2 separate regions of the Homo sapiens genome follow, and region 1 is linked to region 2. The links are contacts of gene promoters, found by promoter capture Hi-C in human tissues and cell types (Jung and others, 2019). All regions are on one chromosome and are shown on one strand. The core of a region is centred on a gene start or on the middle of the fragment in contact, and the rest is flanking DNA. Distances in the headings are between cores, read along the strand shown.

Region 1 (3,515 bases), core at 598-3,097, 360 kb after region 2:
ACTAATATACCAGCCACCTGTCTCATAGACTTGTTAGCAATCATAAAACCTTATTGTTTTAAACCAATGAGTTCTCAAGTTGTTTCTTACTCAGCAACAGCTACTATACAATTGTCATCATGACCCTCTTGAGTTTACAAGAGGAAATATAGAAACAGACACTTTCTGGGCACCTACTATGCACCAGGGATATGACTCCATTACATCACCTTGACCATCTTTTAAGTAGGGATTATTATACCCATTTTACAGCTGAGGAAACCAAAGCTCAGAGAGGAAAAGCAATGCTGAATGCCACCCAGCAGAGCCAAAATTCCAGACCAGATCTGTCTGTGGTGCCTCCACCCCAAGGCTTCAGCTGGAACTCTGGGTTCAAAGAATTCACGTGCATGATATTCACACTGTCAGTGAAAAACTTCATATAGGGCTTCAGCATGTTGAAATGGAAGGCGGGCATCAGCATCTGACGGTGGCAGCTCCACTTGTCACTGGCATTTACCAGGAGCCCATCCCCTAGTAGAGGCAGTCAAGGGCCATGGGCAAGGGTATCTCCCTCTTCTTACCCATCCCCCAAGGTTTTTCCCACCCTTGTTCACCTACAGGTACTCACCCAGCCAGGGCTTCAGGAACTTGTAGAAGGCCTCGTCTTTTGGTGCAATGGTGGCTGACATGAATGAGGACCATCAGAAACCATGGAAAGGGTGAGGGAGGGACTTTGGGTGTGGGGTGAGGCTCCAAGCCAGAGACCACACTTACTCCCTCAAAGCGCAGCATAGTAGAAACATGTGACATGGCCCCGATATGTGTTAACATGTCCTGACATGGTCACAAAATACACAACAAGCCCTAGCATGCTATGCTGTGCTCTAACAAGGATCTTAGACACTCTGAAATGACCTTAGCATGCCCTATAGGCAGGCCCCAGTTAGGATTCAGATTTAAATATGGTCCCTTTAATATCCCAGAAATAGCCCATGTCTGGTCCCAAATGTTCCATAGTCATGACTCAAATATACCCTGAAGCCTGTCTCAAACAATACTCAAACAATGTCTCAGAATGTTTACACACAGACCCTGGGTTCCAGACATGAGGCACATCCCTGGGATCATATGGAGATGGTTATGTCTAGGGCTCAGCTGTGGCCAAGAGTATTTGGGGTATGTGGGGTTTGTCTGCGATTCTGTTTGAGATAGTCTTTTTCTTCTGCTGGTGACGTCTGGGCCATGTTTGGGATGCGCCTCACGTTTGGGCAAGGGTAGGGCTCCAGGCTCGGGTGGCGTCTCCTACTGGAGATTCCTAGGGCCTGGAGCAGGAGGGCAATGAGCATATAGTGGAAGAACCACAGGATGGGGTAGAAGGAACCGACCCACAGAGGTGAATGTCATGAAAATAGCAGTCCAGATCCTCCACCAACTGCATGTCCTCCTCATTGTTCTGGGCTTGGGGACATGCAAGGTGATGCCAGGCCTGGCAGGAGGTCTTGAATTCTAATGTTGCCCATTGCATCGCTTCATCCCCCACTTTAAAACATTCCTACTCATTGTTAGAAACCCAGCTCCAGCAACTTCTCTTCCAGGAAGCCTTCCAGCCTGCCCCAGGAGAGACCAGGTTCTCCTCTGGGCTCTCCCAGCCCATCTCCTTCTGGACCACTCCTGACCCCATGACTTTGGGGATGTCTCTGCCCAGATCCATCTCCTCAAGCTTGGGAGATCCTTCCAGGACAGAGCCTTGGGTTGAGGCCTCATGGGGCTCCAGTAGTGCACAGAACGCCGGGGTGGTGGGGGGATGGCAGTAGTGGGAGGAGACGCTGAGATGGGGGTTGGTGAATACATGAAGGAAAGAGAAGATGGCTGAGGGTGAAGCAAGAAGGAAGGGCCTGGATACTGCAGCGGCCACACAGAAGCTTGGGGGAGGAGGGGCTTGCAGGCCTCAGATGCACCACGGCATTCACCACCAGGTGTTTCAGATGGTACCTGAGGCATTGATGACAGACCAGATGATGTTGGGGTGGCACAACCTGATGATGGGAGTAATGGGGTTCATCCAGATCTTAAAGCCCTGGGGGTAAGTGGCCACCAGCTGAGTCAGAACTCTCATGCCCTCCTTCATGTGGGGACCTGCAAGCAAGGCAGGGGCCTGTAATCCCAGCTACTCGGGATGCTGAGACACAAGAATCTCTTGAACCCAGGAGGCGGAGGTTGCAGTGAGCCGAGATCACGCTACTGCACTCCAGCCTGGGCAACACAGCAAGACTCCGTCTCAAAAAAAAAAAAAAAAGAAAAGAAAAGGAGGCCATCCTAGCACCATGCATGGAGTCCAGTTCTTTGGATAAGTATGCCACTGGGCAATGTTATGACCCTATAACTTGAGTCAGAACTCCTATAGCCATTTCTTTTTGTTCATGAACATATAGAAAGAAAGGCTTAGTTATGTCTGGTAGTCCTAAAGCTGGGGCCCAAGTTAAAGCTTCCTTGATCTGTTCAAATGCTATTTCTTGATTAGTCTTCGAAAGGAGGGGCTGTTTTTCTCCTATCTTTGTGGCTTCATATAATGGTTTAGCCATTAATGAAAAATTTGGAATCCAAATATGGCAAAATCCTGCTGCCTCTAAAAATTATCGTATTTGACACCGGGTGGTTGGGGTTGGGAGTGCACAAATGGCCTGCTTCTGTTTATAGCCAAGCTGGTGTTCTCTGTGGCTTACTATGAAACTTAGATATTTAACTTTTTCATGGCAAATTTGGGCTTTCTTTTTAGATACTTTGTAACTTGTTTTCCATAAAAGATGGAGGAGGTCCTGGGTTCCTTGGTAATAATCCTCTCGGGTTGGGGCTGCCAAAAGAAGGTCGTCCACGTACTGAAACAAGGCACAGTTATCATTTGGCAGGGTATAGGCCTTGAGGTTTGAGGCCAGTGCTTCCTCAAAGATTGTAAGAGAGTTTTTGAACCCTTGTGGGAGCTTAGTCCAGGTGAGCTGTGTAGCTTCCTTGTCCTATTGAAATGCAAAAATGGGCTGACTAACTGGTGCCAGTCAGATACAGAAGAAGGCATCTTTTAAGTCTAAGACCGTAAACCAAGTGGCAACTTGCTGGAATAAGTCCCATTAAAGTATATAGGTTTGGTACTACTAGGTGGATAGCCACTGTGGCCCTGTTTCTAGCCCGCAAGTCTTGCACTGGTCTATACACATTAGACCCTGGTCCTGGTGTCGGCTTTCATGCTGGCAAAAGTGGAGTATTCCGGGGAGACTGGCATCGGACTAAGATCCTGTGTTTATAGAGCCAGTCTAAATGCTTACAAATGCCTCAAATAGCCTCTCAGGGGACCGGGTACTGACGAACTCGAACCAGAGTTGCTCCTGGTTTCAGTTTAACTACTACTGGTGGATGATTTACAGCCAGCCTAGGTGGGTTATCTTCAGCCTATACCTTAGGAATTTTATTAACTAGTCCAAATAATAATTTTTCTTCTTTCCGTGTATGAAGCTGCACTGGCGCCTGCAGTTTCTTTCTAT
Region 2 (3,931 bases), core at 1,109-3,608:
TTTTTTTTTTTTTGATGATGAGTATCGCTCTGTCTCCTAGGCTGAAGTGCAGTGGCATGATCTCAGCTCACTGCAACCTCTGCCTCCTGGGTTCAAGCAATTCTCCTGCCTCAGCCTCCTGAGTAGCTGGGATTGCAGGCACACACCACCATGCCCAGCTAATTTTTTGTAATTTTAGTAGAAGCAGGGTTTCACCATGTTGGTCAGGCTGGTCTCGAACTGCTGACCTCGTGATCTGCCCGCCTCGGCCTCCCAAAGTGCTGGGATTGCAGGTGTAAGCCACTGTGCCTGGCCCAGTAGGCACTCTTTAAGAGCAGGTGTCACACAGTAGAAACTCTATGTAGACCATATGTAGACCATGAGTCACAGAGTGGGCACACTATGAAGAGCAGGTGGCAGCAGTAGGCACTCTTTATGTAGAGCAGGCAGCAGTGAGTAGGCACTCTTTATCAGGAGCAGATGATACTCAGTAAACACTCTTTATATAGAGCAGGTGGCATCTGTAGGCACTCTTTATCTAGAGCAAGTGGCATTCAATGGGCTCTCTCTCTTTTTTATTTTTTTGTGAGACAGAGTCTCACTCTGTTGCCCAGGCTGGAGTGCAGTGGTATGAACTCAGCTCACTGCAAACTCTGCCTCCCGGGTTCATGAGATTCTCCTGCCTCAGCCTCCCGAGTAGCTGGGATCATAGGTGCCCGCCACCACGCCCGGCTAATTTTTGTATTTTTAGTAGAGATGGGGTTTCACCATGTTGGCCAGGCTGGTCTTGAACTCCCGACCTCAGATGATCTGCCTGCCTTGGCCTCCCAAAGTGCTTGGATTACAGGCATGAGCTACTGTGCCTGGCCAGTAGGCACTCTTTATGTATTGCAGGTGGTACTGAGTAGGCACTTTTTATGTAGCGCAGGCAAGAGTAGGAACTCTTCATGTAGAGCAAGCAGCACTCAGTAGGCACCCTTTATGTACAGAAGGCAGCCCACAGTAGGTACACTTTATGGAGCACAGGCAACACTCGAGCAGGCAGCACTCAATAGACCCTCTTTATGTAGATCAGGAAACACTCAGTAGGAAGTCACCATATAGAGCAGGTGGTATCAGTAGGCACTGTTTATGTAGAGCACTTGGCACTCAGTAGGCATGTGTTATGTAGACAGCAACTGGTGCTCAGTGGGCACTCTTCATATACAGGGGGTGGCACTCAATAGGCACTCACTATGTAGAGCAGGTGGCACACAGTAGGCACTCTATGAGGAATATCAGGAACTGAGTATACAGGGTTAATGTAGAGCACCTGGCACACAGTAGGCACACTTTATGGAAAGCACTTGGCACAGAGTAGACAGGATTTAGCACCTGGCACACAGTAGCTGCCCTTCATTTAGAGTATTGGCACACAGTAGAAGTACTTTCCATGCAGCCTTTGTGCAGAGTAGAGACTGGCACACAGCAGCTCAAGTGCTAGTTGCCACCCTTTCCCTTCACTCCTTTTTGGGGCTCCCTCCTCTTAGGAGCCCTCATTGTCCCCCGCTAAGGCCCTCATCGAACATCCCATTTCCCAGATGGGAAGACTGCACCCAGGAGGGGCAGTACTGACCAAAGTCAGAGCAAGGATGAGGCAGAATGAGGACTCCATTCATGGTTCCCTGGCTCTGCCCTTCCCCTGCCTGGACCCCATCCGTTCCCTCTCATCCTAACCCTCCACGTCCCCGCTCTGTCCTCCTATACTGAGTCCGGCCTCCAGATTTGCTTTTCCAGCTGAGCTCTTAATCTCCAGAATCTGACCCAGGTAATCCTCAGTGGGGCTGGATTCTTTGTTCCCGTTCCTAGCAGTCAGGTCTCCAACAGGGCCCTGGACTGCCTGGAGGCAAGACTTGAACTCCATCCAGCAGCAGGGGGATAGAGGCTTGTCTCTTCCAGGTTGCCTGATTCAGCATCCAGAAGTGGTACACGGTGTCCTACCGGCCCAGGGTTAGAGAGGAGCACAGGAGATGATCTGGAACAAGGCTTGGCCTGGCCTGGCTCGCTTGACACCTGAACTCTCAAGTTCATGCTTTTATCTGCCACACACTCAGTAGGTGCTCTTTAAGAGCAGGTGTCACACAGTGGAAACTCTATCTGACCCCTCTCGGCTTACTCTCCACCTTATGTGGGAGGTGCTGAGACCTGAGGATCCAGTGCCTGTGCTGTGTCACCCTGAGCTGGTTCCTCTGCATCCAGCTGGTCTCCCACACCCAGGTTTTGGCCAGCTGCCCAGACATGGGAGCGGCACCCAGGCTGTGGGGATTGGCTGGCCCAGCCCAGCCCAGCCTAGCCTCCCACAGCCTTCCCTACATCAGGGGCCAGGGGAAAAAACCTCCCAGAAGAAGGGGAGAGGAGGTTGTGTGGGACAAGGTGCTCCTGACAGAAGGTGCCAGGGTGGGGGTGGTGGGCCTGGGGCATCCTAGCCTGTGATGGAGATGGGCACTGGGCAAGGGATTGGGCGCACACATAGGGGAGCCCCAGCCTTCCCACATTCTCCATTGCTGCCCAAGGCCCAGGCAGCTCCTGGTTGCTGGCTTGGAGGATGAGTGGTTTTCTAACTGAAACCAAGCCCCTGGCAACGTCCTAATGATTCAGGCTGGGCCTTTCTGGACTTTAATCAGTTTCTCTGTCTTTCTCAATCTAAGTGCTTACCGGGTAACTGGAGGCCACTTGGTTGCTGGTTTTGGCTGGGCCTTTCTGGACTTTACCCCTCAGCCCCTGTTTATCCATCCCTGTTTACTCTTACTGTTCTATCTCCAGCACTGCCCGTCTCTGCCTCTCTCCACTGTCCCTGGAGCTCCCTGGGCCCTTCCCTGGGCCTCAGGACCTCACTCACCACCCCATCTGCCCTGCAGGATGCCACAGCTGAGCCTGTCCTCGCTGGGCCTTTGGCCAATGGCAGCATCCCCGTGGCTGCTCCTGCTGCTGGTTGGGGCCTCCTGGCTCCTGGCCCGCATCCTGGCCTGGACCTATACCTTCTATGACAACTGCTGCCGCCTCCGGTGTTTCCCGCAACCCCCGAAACGGAATTGGTTCTTGGGTCACCTGGGCCTGGTGAGTGTGGCAGCAGGACGGGTCTGGGGTCTCAGGGTGGATGGACTTCCTGAGGGGTAAGAATGAGGCTCAGGTGAGAGGGGGTGGGCTGGGGTCTGGGGTGGCAGAGAAGCAGGGGAGGCGTCTTACTCATTCCTCTGCTTACTCATTTCTGTGAGGTGCCAACCCAAGCCCTTCTCACCTCCCTGTTCTCCCACTCTTGGCCTGTGTTGAATCCTTTTCCTGCCTGTCTTTCCACATTAATGCACCTCTGCGGGGCTCTTGGGCAGGGGGTTGGGTGCACAGAAAGGTGAACCCCTGGCGTTCCCACATTCTCCATTGCTGGACTCGAGGCCTCCTGTACCCACTGTTCAGGGTCCTCTCCCTACCTGGCCTATTTCCTCTTATGAGGGTATAGGTGGGCCAGAGGAGAGGTGTGGGCTGTCTCTCACCTCCACCACATCCGGAGGCACCTTCCTCTTATCTTGTTCCTCCCCAGTAAGATGTCCCAATGGGGTCCTGTTGCCAAACCCACATAAAAGTTGGCCACTCACTTCCCCTTTCAGAAGCCTTCCCTGACCTTTCTCCTCCCCCAGACCTTGCCCTCTGACTTAGACCTGCTCTCCCCTTTGCGGAACGTGGTCTCAATCTGCTCATTGCAAATGGCAGGATTGATGGGTGTGTCCACAGGTGAAGTGGGAGGGTGCACAGGATGCACTAGCACAGAGCCTGGTGCAGAAGCTTCTCCCAGGTGGGAGCCACTGTCATGATGGACAGTTAGAGTCACCTCTGCTCCCCTAGTGACTGCTGAGAAGGGAAGGTCCCCTGTGTGCAGAACCTTCTCCATGGGAGGAACTGGAACCTGTGTGGCTGGTGG

What was found. The method cuts DNA at HindIII sites, captures the fragments that hold promoters and counts their contacts. A contact is called where the count stands out against the background at its distance.
Region 1: a contact is called between a fragment that was not itself captured here and the fragment with the promoter of CYP4F3 in region 2, in 4 of the 25 tissues and cell types used here (H1 embryonic stem cells, liver, lymphoblastoid cells and 1 more).

The regions. Positions count from the first base shown.
Region 1 is chr19:15,996,918-16,000,432 of GRCh38, forward strand. It overlaps the pseudogene LOC124900424 and the pseudogene CYP4F9P. Among named protein-coding and RNA genes, the nearest start is that of LINC00661, 17 kb to the right of the region's middle. The HindIII fragment of the contact is 3,126 bases long and covers 285-3,410 here.
Region 2 is chr19:15,638,539-15,642,469 of GRCh38, forward strand. CYP4F3 (cytochrome P450 family 4 subfamily F member 3) reads left to right here and starts at 2,359. Exons shown (of 13, transcript NM_000896.3): 1 at 2,359-2,407; 2 at 2,877-3,075. The coding sequence starts at 2,878. The HindIII fragment of the contact is 9,363 bases long and covers 1-3,931 here.